Linked DNA regions of Homo sapiens: region 2 is linked to region 1. Evidence: promoter capture Hi-C in human tissues and cell types (Jung and others, 2019). All regions are on one chromosome and are shown on one strand. The core of a region is centred on a gene start or on the middle of the fragment in contact, and the rest is flanking DNA. Distances in the headings are between cores, read along the strand shown.

Region 1 (6,139 bases), core at 1,890-4,389:
GCTACCTGACACCACTGTCTAATCCCTACCCTGCTTTGTTTTCTTAGCATATATCCCTGACATTACATACTTGTTTTCTCTCCTCGAACTAGTAAAGATCCTTGCGAGCAGGGAATTTGTTTTGTCCATTGCTCAGTAAGCACCTACATGAGTGCCTGGTCTGGCATATAGTGGGAGTTGAATGAATATTTTTGATTGAATAAATAGGAGGTAAGGACAGGATGGGAAGGCAAGTAAGTAGGTTTCTCGATTTCAGGACATTCTACATTTTCTGTTACTTACATGATAAGGAAGTCAGGGGAAGTGGTAAGGGTATAGGTCAGAGATTTGTAGAGATCGTGGAGAGCAAGTTGACTAGAAAAATATAATGAAATTTCTAGTCACAGTTCACAGTCCTTTTTTTTTTTGAGACGGAGTCTTGCTCTGTCACCCCGGCTGGAGTGCAGTGGCGCGATCTCAGCTCAATGCAAACTCCACCTCCCGGGTTCAAGCAATTCTTCTGCCTCAGCCTCCAAAGTAGCTGGGATTACAAGTGCTTGCCACTGCGCTCAGCTAATTTTTGTATTTTTAATAGAGACGGGGTTTCACAATGTTGGCCAGGCTGGTCTCGAACTCCTGACCTCATGATCCACCCACCTCAGCCTCCCAAGTGCTGGGATTACAGGTGTGAGCCGCCGCACCTGACCCACAGTCCATTTAAAGTTGGTCTTTATTAATGTAGTGACGCCAATCTGTTCAGCAGGACACTTTTTCTTTTTTTGAGGTGGAGCTTTGCTCTTGTTGCCCAGGCTGGAGTGCAATGATGCAATCTCAGCTCACTGCAACCTCTCCTCTCAGGTTCAAGCTCTCCTGCCTCAGCCTCTGGAGTAGCAGGGATTACAGGTCTTCACCACCACGCCCGGCTAATTTTTGTATTTTTAGTAGACAGGGTTTCACCATGTTGGTCAGGCTGGTCTCAAACTCCTGACCTCAGGTGATCCACCCGCCTCGGACTCCCAAAGTGCTGGGATTACAGGCATGAGCCATCGTGCTCGGCCTCAACAGGACAATTTTTTTGTTTTTGAGATGAAATCTTGCTCTGTCACCCAGACTGGAGTGCAGTGGCGTGATCTCGGCTAACTGCAACCTCCGCCGTCCAGGTTCAAGCGATTCTTCTGCCTCAGCCTCCCCAGTAGCTGGGACTACAGGCATGCGCCACCACACCCAGCTAATTTTTGTATTTTTAGTAGAGACGGGGTTTCACCATATTGGCCAGGCTGGTTTCTAACTCCTGACCTCGTGATCCGCCCACCTCGGCCTCCCAAAGTGTTGGGATTACAGGCATGAGCCACCACGCCCAGCAACAGGACAACTTTCTATGACAAGGTACAAGCAAGGAGAAACACATAGGTCCATCCAGGGTGAGGGATTTCGTTGGGGAAAAAGGAGTGTTGTGGTGGGATTAAGATTAAGTAGGGGCAGGACTGTATTAATGTACCACTGAATCTAAAATGGATAAGGAAGGAAGTGAAGAGGGGATTAATGTATAAGAGATAAAGTAGAGGCTTTCAACCGATTAGATGCTCTGCTCTGATAAAGTGAAAGAACAGGCCGGGTGCAGTGGCTTACGCCTGTAATCCCAGCACTATGGGAGGCCGAGGCGAGCGGATCACCTGAGTTCAGGACTTCGAGACCAGCCTGGCCAACATGGCGAAACCTGTCTCTACTAAAAATGCAAAAATTAGCTGGCTTGGTGGCGCACACCTGTAATCCTAGCTACTCGAGAGGCTGAGGCAGTAGAATTGCTTGAACCCAGGAGGCGGAGGTTGCAGTGAGCTGAGGTTGCGCCACTGCACTCCAGCCTGGGCGACAGAGCAAGACTCCTTCTAAAAAAAAAAAGTGAAATAACAGTAATAACAGTTATGCTGTAATTCTATTTTTTTTGGGGGGGGGGAACAGTGTCTCTGTCACCCAGGCTGGAGTGCAGTGGCACAATCATGGCTCACTGCAACCTCCGCCTCTCCTGGGCTCAGGTGATCTCCCACCTCAGCCTTCCGAGTAGATGGGACCACAGGCATGCGCCAAAACGCCTCATTAAACTTTGTATTTTTTGTAGAGATGGGGTATCGCCTTGTTGCCCAGGCTGCTCTCCAACTACTGGGCCCAAGAGATTCGCCTGCCTCAGCCTTCCAAAGTGCTGAAATTACAGGCGTGAGCTACTGCATCAGGCCTATAATTCAAAAGTAGTCAAGCTGAGAGAATAGCAGGCTGTGGTTGAAAAGAGGGTTGTTCAAATTACTGAGTCGTGACGCGATAGCGTTTGGAGGGACAAGGTCCAGGTTTTAACTGGGATTGGGAGGCTGATATAAGGGTCGCTAAAGACGAGGCCCGATGTTGAATGGGTTGGCCACATAGGCTCTGAAATTATCAAAGATGGTCAGACGGGAGACAGACAAGGAGCTGGATACACAGATCGGCAGATTATCTCCAAACGGGGTGAAGTAGGTGACAGAGTCTAAGGGGAAGGGCTGAAGAAGCAAGTGTTTTTACAAGAGGTGACAGCACCTGGCACATAATCCCGACCTCTGCAAACTGAGACCTGAGAATACTAATTCATGTGAGAAAGTTTCAAGGGACGCAACATTCTCGGGACAGCCAGGTCTCTGTCCCAGGAAGGAGCGGAGAAGTTTAGAGACAAGCTGATCTAAACACGAGAACCTCTGAGGAAGACCGGCTTGAAGGCAGGAGATTGAGGAGGGGACCGAAGCGACGGCAAACCCTACACTCCTCTGCTCTTTAGTTACTTTCCTCCCAGCCAACCGCCCAAGCCACACCAACCTCCGCAATAGAAAACGCTCGGAGAACACGATCTCCCGCCCAGCTCTTTTCAACTCCCCGCGGAAGTGCTCACACCGGAACCCCTCTGTGTCCGCACTTTGCCATTGGCCGAGGCTTCCGCCCGCTTCCATTCGCTTCCTCCCACAACTCAGTCGGGCTGCGCGGTCCGTAGGAGTCACTTCCGCCTCGTCCCACCCCGCCCCCCGGTCCCTTTCTAGCAGCTTCCGGCTTCGGTCCCGCCCCGCCCCCTGTGGCCCCGCCCCGCCCCCGCCCCCGCCCCTGGCTGGCGGTCCAGCCCCGCGGCGCCGCTTCCGGTGCGGGCCCCGCCCCGGCTGTGGCCCCCGGCTGCGGAGGAGTCCGAGACGCAGCTGCCGCGCCGGGGCCTGAGCTGCCGCCTCCTCCGCCGCCCGAAAACCCGGAGTGCCCCGCACAGGTAAGTGGCCCGGGTCCGGGCTCCCTCAGGCATGGCGGGAGAGGAGGCTGCGACAGGTGGAGGGGCCGAGGCCAGGAGCCGAGGCAGGTGTAGAGAGAGAGGGGAATGCGCGAGTCGGGGGCGCGGGGACCGCGAAGGAAAGTGAGAGCGCCGCGGGAGCCCCGAGCGCCCTGTGCCCATTAGGGCATTTGAGATAAAGCGTTTGAGATAAAGCGATGAGAAGGGTGAGGGGCCCTGGAGCTGAGTGGGCGCGCAGATAGGTGGGGCGGGGGCCATCGGAAGAGCCAGCGGATTGGCTGGGAGGGTTGGTAGAGGTAAAAATGATAGGGCTGAATGGGGGGAGGTGAATAAAGAATGGGGGGAGGCGTGCAGGGGTGACCGGGAAGGTGGGCTGTGGGGCTTACAGGGGCCCGGGGCCAAAAGAATCCGGCAGCAAAAGCAGGGGAATGGTCAGCAGGCCGGGTTCAAAGCTGCAGGTAGTCCGTTGTACCCGGCTTGGTGGTCCGGGAACTTTAGGGGAAATGGGGGAGGGGCCCGTGTGAAGGGATGAAGAGGTTTAGATTTGAGACATAAGTTCTCCAAATGTAGGCAGGTGGCATTGTTTGGATCGCTGGCTGCTTAGGGACTGCGGGAAAATGGGCTCTTTGGGGGAGGGTGTGTGTATTGAGTTGTAGAACTGAGTCATCTCAGTCTTACTATAAGAGGCTGTGGGAGGGACACCTCCCCCTCTGCTGGGGACAGCATTCAGAGAAGATGGTGCCACAAGACAAGAAGCAGTTGTTCAGTGACTGGCAGGACTTGGTTGAGAAGTTATTCCGATCGTGATTGATTGACTGTAATGACTATGAGGACATTTAAAATGAACACCGAATTATTTGCTTTATTCTGTAATTTTCTTTGACCCAAATTGTTTTCATTTTAAATGAACACTTTTGCCAACTGAATTTAATGTGGATGTAAATCTTGTCATGCTTTTTTACACTGTAAGAAGAGCTAAAGCAGAATGAAAGTATTGCTGCAAGCGTAACTCACACTTTCTGAAGTGCCAAGAGAGGAAGTAAAGGCAGTAAGAGGCAAATTGGAATGCGAATCTTTCACAGAACACAAAAGGCACAAACAGGGCTATAAGATAAACAGAAAATGAGAATTTTTAATCTCTACTAATTGGCCTAGCTTTAAAAATTGTACCCTTTTTTACTCTAACCTGGAAAAAATCTTAAATCCAAGCAGTTTTTATTGCTGAAGATGTGATTACTTCTCCGTGAATTTTTGAAGATACTAAAGACACTTTGTTTTTTGTCTTTCGACCCAATCCTAAAACACTGGAACAATGCAGATATCAAGTCCCAACATGTGCAGTGCAGCTTCTTTCATGTGATGACAAAATTGTACGCCATGTTGCAAGTCCTGTTCACCTAAAATTGCCCTTGCATAGTAATCCATTCAGTTATGGAGACTTGCTGAAGAAACATAACTCAAGTGAAGTTTGTTGGGGGTGAGGGCCTGCAGGGGAGAGGTGGGGGAGTAAAAGGAGAAGAGGGTGTGAAAGTGATGTGTGTTTGGAGACTGATTGGTAAGAATGCAGATAAACCTGCCCCCAGAATGCTTTTGGCCCGAAAGACTTTTCTTTTTGTGTTTGTCAGAGAATATCATAATAGAAATGAATCAGAAAGAAAGGGGATGTGAAGAGATTTACTTCGCTGTTTATAAAAAAGAAGCAGCATTAACTTGTTGTTCAGACAATGTTGATATCTGTTTCAAATTAATTAACTTTAAAATCTCCAGAGGAATTCCCCCGTTTGCTTTTGAGTGACGATTGCAATTTGAGACTCTTGCCTCCTTGCGTGTTTCTTTCATGTTGTTGAAATTGGATTCTTTTTGAGGCTATAATGTCCAGTTAGTATGGCTCAGTCCACTCAACAAGCAGGCTGGCAATTTGATCAGGGAAATTTGAAAAGCTTAGACCCAAGAGCAGCTTGCTTGGTCTTGCTTTTTCTATGAGAGTAAAACTGTCTGCCTGATAGTTCTGTGTCTAGCTTAGAGGTGATATCTTTCTCCTGTGGGCTTGGGAACATACTCTCTCCTTTGCAGGCAGGTCCTTCTTTTCCTTTATTATTGTTGTTTGCATAATTATGCTTCTGCTACAGTGCAAACCCAGTTACCTTTTCAGTAATTAATGTTCAGTAACATTAGTTCAGTAACAGATTAATGTTTGATAATGTAGAGGAAGAGAGATCAGAACACGTTAGCAGACTAGATATTGGCTGGATGTACTTCTTTTAAAGCCTGCTACTACTACTGAAATTCATTCCCTATTTCCCCTCTTAGATCCTGTTTCTCTTCTTCACACCTTTTCCTACCCACCCACGAAACCCCCACCACTCACTCATCTTAAAACTCAGGTTTAGGAGCATATGTTTAGCGTTCGGAACTCATGGCCCTCTACTGGAGAAAAGGAAACCTTTTTATACCTGCTTAACATGGTTGTTTTTTCCCCCTCCTTCTTTGTGGTTTCTGTTAATCACTAAGGTTTAGACCCAGTGTGCCTGGTGGGCTGTGCCCAGGTTCAGAGTCATGCCACTCTGTGGGTGAAGCTTGAGGCAAAAATGGAGCCACTTCAGCAGCAGCAGCAGCAGCAGCAGCAACAACAGAAGCAGCCACACCTGGCTCCTCTGCAGATGGATGCCAGAGAGAAGCAGGGCCAGCAGATGAGAGAAGCCCAGTTCTTGTATGCCCAAAAGCTGGTCACACAGCCGACTCTCCTTTCCGCCACAGCTGGGAGACCTTCTGGCAGCACTCCCTTAGGTCCCTTAGCCAGAGTTCCACCCACCGCAGCAGTGGCCCAAGTGTTTGAACGGGGCAACATGAACTCAGAGCCTGAGGAAGAGG
Region 2 (6,162 bases), core at 1,107-3,606, 1.2 Mb after region 1:
CTTTGACATGGTATAGGATAGTCTAGTAACTTAACATACTGTTGTTTTCAACAGGCTAGTGCTTATGATTTGTAAAAGAACTCTTCAGAAATGAGTTCAATTTTACCATGAATTGGGACATTTTCCATTTCTTTCTATTCCATAGAGCAGTTTACTTGTCATGAGCTCTGTCTTTTGAAAACCTGAAAGCCTGCAATAAAACCAGCTGCACCTGGTGCATGGGATAGGCATGGAATTGAGGAGAGAGCTCAAACTACGGTCAGCCCTCTGTATCCTCGGGTTCTGGATCCTTGGATTTGACCAACTGTGCATCAAAAATATTTGGAAAAAGTAAAATAAAAAAACAAATTTAAAAATACTTCATACAGCTATTTACAAAGCATTTACGTTGTATTAAGTATTATAGTAATCTAGAGGTGATTTAAAGTCTACGGAAGGATGTGCATAGGTTATATGCAAATACTATGCCATATTATATCAGAGCATCTGTGAATTTTGGTATCTCTGGGGTCCTGGAACCAATATCCTGAGGTTTCTAAGGGACAACTGTATTCAATTTCTTCTCTGGTTATTAGTCTATTCTCTAATGTATTTTTGTTGTTGTTTTGTCTTTTTGTTTTTGCCTCTTCAAGTCAATGTCGGAAACTTAGTTGTTTTAGACAACCCATTAGCTCAGAGCTACCAGTAAGCAGACTACCACTGCAATCTAAGCAACGGATTTTTTCCCCCATCAGACTGGCAAAAAATAAGCATCTATTGATGTTGAAATTGTAGGGAGTTTTCCTGAGCATGTTAATTATGACAGCCCTTTTTGCTAGGCACCTACACAATTCATCAAAATGAAATAAAACACCCATGCACTTGAAGAAGTTATCTGGTTATTTCCTTATCTGGGTGCTGGTTATGTGAGGTCTACAGTTAATGAACACTTATTAAGCTTTATATTTCTAATAGGTACAATTTTCTGCATGTGTAGTAGATTTCAATAGTTTTTAAAATGTCTTTTGCCGCAGCCCGCAGCTGTGTATAATGCTATTCGCTTAACAGTGGAAAACATGGCAATGACCTGAATCCCCCTGGCTCCCGGGATCCTACCCCCTTAAGTTAAACAAATGAAATAACTTCCACTGTCTTTCCTAATGTCTTAATTCGGTCCTCAGTTAAACTGGCGGTGGGCGCTGCTTTTTTTCCAGGGAAGGATTCTGGAAGACATAGGAGGAGACGCCAGCATTTCGCCCTCCAGCACCTCCTGCGGGCTGTGGTCCGCTTCCGGCCTCACTCGAGCAGACCCCGCCCTCCCAGAGGCCGTTTGTCCAAGTCACGTGATCGTCGAATCTGTTGACCTGGCGCCACCGGAAAAAGAAATTCCCGGGCCCTGGCTTCTTGGCCTGATGGTGAGGCACCAGAGGTGAAGCGAGGCATGGGCTGCTGGAGCGGGAATGAGGGGGCGACAGTGGCTCCGGAAACGGGGGGAGGGTGTCTTCACTGGCCTCTCCGCAAACACAGTGTGTGCGGGTGTGAGGGCTGCAGGTCTGGTAGAGAAGAGTCCACCGCCATCCCGCTCCTGAGACGGGGGCAGGAGTGGGGGGCAGGAGTGGGGGGGCGGGTAAGACAGAGCAGGCCGGCCGGCTTGTGGAGGGCGAGGCAGGCAGATCCCTTGAGCTCAGGAGTTTGAGACCAGACTGGGCAACATGGCAAAACCCCATCTCTACTAAAAATACAAAAAATTAGCTGGGCATGGTGGCACATGCCTGTAGTCCCAGGTAGTTAGGAGGCTAGGGTGGGAGCACTGCTTGAGCCCAGGAAGTAGAGGCTGCAGTGAGCCGAGATCATGATGTCACTGCACTCCAGCCTGGGCAACAGAGTGGGACCCTGTCTCAAAAAATAAAAATAAAGTGGAAGCATCAGTATGCATGATTGAAGTCATGCTTTCCATCTATTTTTTTCCACCTTCCCTTTTTTCTGTCTAAAACATTGTATCTTAAGCTTTTGCCTATGTTATCAAGTACTCATAAGCATTATTTGAATGGTTGTATCATAATCCATTATCTGGACTCATTGTCATTTATCCATCTGCAGTTGCTGGAGATACTGCCCTTTCTGCCACACTCAGTCACCCTTCTGACCTTGCACTGTGTCCAGTTATCTACTAATACCCATACTGGTCATTTAGGACTTAAGAATAGTTATCATAGTTTTTAACATTCCAAAAAGAATGTGTCTTCCTAAAAATAGAATGGCTTGGTGGTTATACTTTTAAAGCAAAATAGACAAAGCCATGTTGAAATTAATGTTTTATTTTCTTCTTGTATCTATTTTCACTTCTCTTGTCATTTTGATGGATAAAGTTTCATTTGGAAGGATTTTTATTTCAAAACAGAAATAGCATATGACATGAGAAGGGGAACTCTGAAAGGTTCAACTTCCTAGTTTACTAAGTTTGTCACAAAAGCTACTGATAGTCAATCATGATTGGCCTGTATTGAAAGTGAGTTAACATTATGTACAACTTAAGCACTATACTTTCTATCCGATACAGAAAAATAGGTGGTGTGTTTGGAAAAGTATTGGGCTAGGAGTCAGGAAGCTTGATTGTTAGTCTCAACCCTGCTTCTTGAGCTGAGCACCCCTAGGCAATAATTCAGCAGCTATTTCTTAAATACCTAAATGAATTTCAGGCTTTGTGGTTGGGCTGGGAATATAGACATAGATACTGCATTCATGATTCTCCAAGCCTCCCTTCTTCACCCCGGCTCACAGTGAGCTTTCTTATGCATTGTGTAAATTTGTCTCCTAACAGGCCCCAACTCTGTCTCCAACCTCCTTCCCAGGGCAGTTGTGAGGATCAGATGAGGGAGAATATGTGTGAAAGCAAATTGTAAATTATTTTAAAATGCAATAAAAATATGATCCATGGAAAATTATTTAAAGATCCTTATTAAAATTATTAAAGATCCTTAGAATTTTAAATAAACAGTACATTAGGCCGGGCATTGTGGCTTAGGAGAGCGCTGGGTCAAATCAGTCCCCTCCAGCTACGCATTGCCTGGAGCTGCTCTCCAAGGACCCCTCAGCCACAGAAGGCGCTGGTCCTCCTACAGTGCTGCCCCACCCCCACCACCACAGCCTCCTGGGGGTGCAGTCAGGGGTGCCCTCCTTCAGGCTCTGCCCCTGCACCCACTCCTACACAACTACTCTCCCTGCCGGCAGCCCCAGAGACCAGATTGGTTTGGGCCTCTGCCTCCGCAGGCCCGAACCACCATCTCTTCTGCTCCCCAGAAAGCCAGCTCCCAGCACACAGGCAGCGTTCCCTCTTCATTCCTCAACACAGAGGGCCCCTCACAACCCTCTCAGCAGATGGTAGAGCTCCCCACGCATCCTCTTAAAGAGGCTTCACCGTTGATGGCCACAAGCCCCACCATGACCTCCTCCCAGGGAGTGAATTTTCTTACATGTCTCCCACCAGAGCAGGGACAAAATAAAACATAAAAGCAGCAGCTGTTAAATTATCAGCAACATTTCCTACTAGGATCAACTCACGGAGTGGGCAGTGTATTCCATTAGGTGGATCAGTGCAGGGGTTAGCAAGCGTTTTCTGTAAAGGGCCGGATGGGAACTCTTTAAGGCTCTGCAGGCCACTGGGTCTCTGTCACCACCTACTCAAACCCTCCCCTGTAGCAAGAAAGCAGCCCTAGCAACATGTCAACAGATAAGCGTGGCCACATTCCCAGAAACCTTTCTTTATGGACATGGAAGTTTGCATCTCACGTAATTCTCATGTGTCACAAGATACGACTCTACTTTCCATGTTTTCAACCATTTAAACATGTAAAAGCCATTCTTAGCGCGTGGGCCACACAAAAGCAGGCAGCAAGAAATTTGGCCTTTACACCAACAGCAGCTGACCCCTGGATGGAGCATTAGAGCTTGGGTGTGTGTCCCACTCCAGGGCTTCCAGGAGAGGGGATGCAGGCCGATGCCACCTCCACCCCTGTCGCTCTAGGGGAGAAGGCAGAGCTGGTGCTGTATGAAGTTTGGCTGCAGATCCTGGGCCAGCCCTACACCAAGGCCTTGGAGGACAAAACCAGCCTTGAGTTCTGGGCACTTCAGGGGCAACCGACAAGATGGGTGAAGTGGCGGGATGAAGTGGGGGGGCGGGGAAGAAGCCTCGGGAAGATGGGGGATGACTGGACAAGACTTTGGTAGAGCTGTGACCCTCTTCATCCTCTCCTGACCCCCCAGCTGACCCTCGTCCTCAGATCTCTGCAGAACTTTGACCAGTGGTGGTGGAGGAATTCCGGTGGGTCCAGGGTGGCCCTGGGTGACCCAGGGCTCAGACCTGGGTTCTGGGGTTGAAGGCAGGAGGCTGGAAGAGATGACCTCCCTTAGGCCCCCCAGGCTGCCCAGCCCCCTGAAGTGGGATGATCCTCCCACCAGGCTGGACCCACTGACCGTCAGAGTGGGTGCCACCTTCTTCAGGGCGGCATCAGCCCAGGCTCTCGTGTGGGTCTGCACACCCTGGGGGAGGCAGAGGGCCTCTTGGTAGACACGGTCATCTCAGACCTCGGTCAGTACCTCCTTCCCTCTGCAGGCCCCCTCCCTCTGTCCATCTGCCTCCTCCCTTGGGCTTGCTGCCTCTACATGCCCTGATCTGAAACCTGCCTCCCCTCCTCATGGAGCCCTCCAAGATGCTCCTAGCCCCAGCTCTCTGGTCCCGCAGCAACTTCTGGTGCCAGATTCTGCCTTCTCAGAAGTCTGGGAGGCAGGGCCCCACCTGGCCATAGCCTTCTTGGTCTGCTCTAGGCACTGCTAGCCTTGAAGCCTCCAGCCTGCTGGATGCCTCCATCCCCGGCTATGCTGTGGCTCTCCTCATTCTAGGCCTCCTGCTCGTCACATTCACCCTTGTCCTGGTGAGTGTCTGGCTGGGCCCAGGCTCCTTCCTGAGGGGCAGGCTGAGCCTTTGATGCCTTGAGCCTTGAGCCAAGCTGAGGAGTGAGCAGGCCCCTTTACACCCCTGATTCCCCCACCCAAGCCCAGCATCTCCTCATCCTCCAGCTGGGGCTGCAGGGTTTGGGGCCAGGGGGCTGGGCCTGATCCCAGTGTCCCCACCCTTCTTGTCAAGGTGCTAAAGTGGAGGGCCTCCCATGGGGTGTTCAGCCTGGGTGTGTAGAAGCACACAGTGTGGTACAGAGGACCCTCTCCAGACAGGTAAGTGGAGGGCGGTTCTCCCTGACCCCACCCCAATTGTTTGTTCTGGGTGGGGTCCACCGCGCCCCCTGCCAAGGCCTTCTGCAAACACTCCCCAGGGGCTGTTGTGGGCAGCACCTGGGTGGTGCAGTTGGTGTGCCAGAAAAGCTCCCCAGTACTGGGCAGTGGCCCAGGCAGTCAAGCAGACTCCCTCAAGCAGGCCCCACCTACCCCTCGCCTGTTCCCAGCTGCCTCCCACCAACCCTAGAAATGATGCTGGGAGCTGACAGAAACTGAACTTAGGAGCACAGGAGGCCAGGAGACCTGGGACAGAGAACAGGAGGTATGGGGAGGGAATCTTCCTTCCCCCACTTCCCACTGCATGAGGGCCAGACAGTGGCACCTCCAGGTCCTGGAAGGACATGTGTGGACCCAACTCAGTTGGCCCTTTGTCTTATGGCCTTTCTTCTCCCTCCCCCGGGGCCAGGTGGATGTGGGAGGAGACGAACCACCATCCTGGGTGCACTCAGACTCATTCCCCACTCCTGGCCTTCACTCCCTTTCCTCTACACACAGGTGACCCCTCATGCTGCTGCTCCCTCTGCTGAAACCCAAACTGCAAACCTCTCCTCTCCCTGCCTTCACCTTGCCCCACGGCTTCCACAGACAGTGCCTCAACCCCGAGGAATGAATCCGAAGTTCCAACACCACTGACTTTCCCAGGAACTCAGAGCCAGAGAGGGCCAAGGACCAGCTCGAGGACACACAGCCAGGGCTTCTTCCCTCCGAAACCCCCAAGGACTGGACTTGCAGGGCTGGGACAGAGGTGGGGTGGGGGAAAGCAATGCCTTGTCAACCCACGTGGGGAGCCCCACTCCCATCCCCAAGGTGCATAAAGTTGAGGAACACCCCTGCTCCCACGTCCATGCTCATTCAGGGCCCTGCTCCAAGTGCTTGGCACTCACACCAGCCTCC

The links. Contacts are between HindIII fragments. The study calls those that stand out against the background at their distance.
Region 2: a contact is called between a fragment that was not itself captured here and the fragment with the promoter of ARID3B in region 1, in 1 of the 25 tissues and cell types used here (spleen).

Annotation. Positions count from the first base shown.
Region 1 is chr15:74,538,081-74,544,219 of GRCh38, forward strand. It overlaps ARID3B (AT-rich interaction domain 3B), which reads left to right and starts at 3,140. Exons shown (of 9, transcript NM_006465.4): 1 at 3,140-3,250; 2 at 5,780-6,139. The coding sequence starts at 5,857. LOC124903528 (a long non-coding RNA gene) reads right to left here and starts at 3,008. Exons shown (of 2, transcript XR_007064719.1): 1 at 2,818-3,008. RefSeq lists enhancers at 2,396-2,525, 2,460-3,001, 2,576-2,725, 4,076-4,135 and silencers at 3,026-3,385, 3,902-4,086. The HindIII fragment of the contact is 13,134 bases long and covers 1-5,526 here.
Region 2 is chr15:75,757,220-75,763,381 of GRCh38, forward strand. LOC101929408 (a long non-coding RNA gene) reads left to right here and starts at 1,323. Exons shown (of 4, transcript XR_932487.3): 1 at 1,323-1,408; 2 at 4,804-4,910; 3 at 5,123-5,208; 4 at 5,764-6,102. It overlaps MIR4313 (microRNA 4313), which reads right to left and starts at 5,096; the gene lies at 4,996-5,096. The HindIII fragment of the contact is 5,413 bases long and covers 1-5,063 here.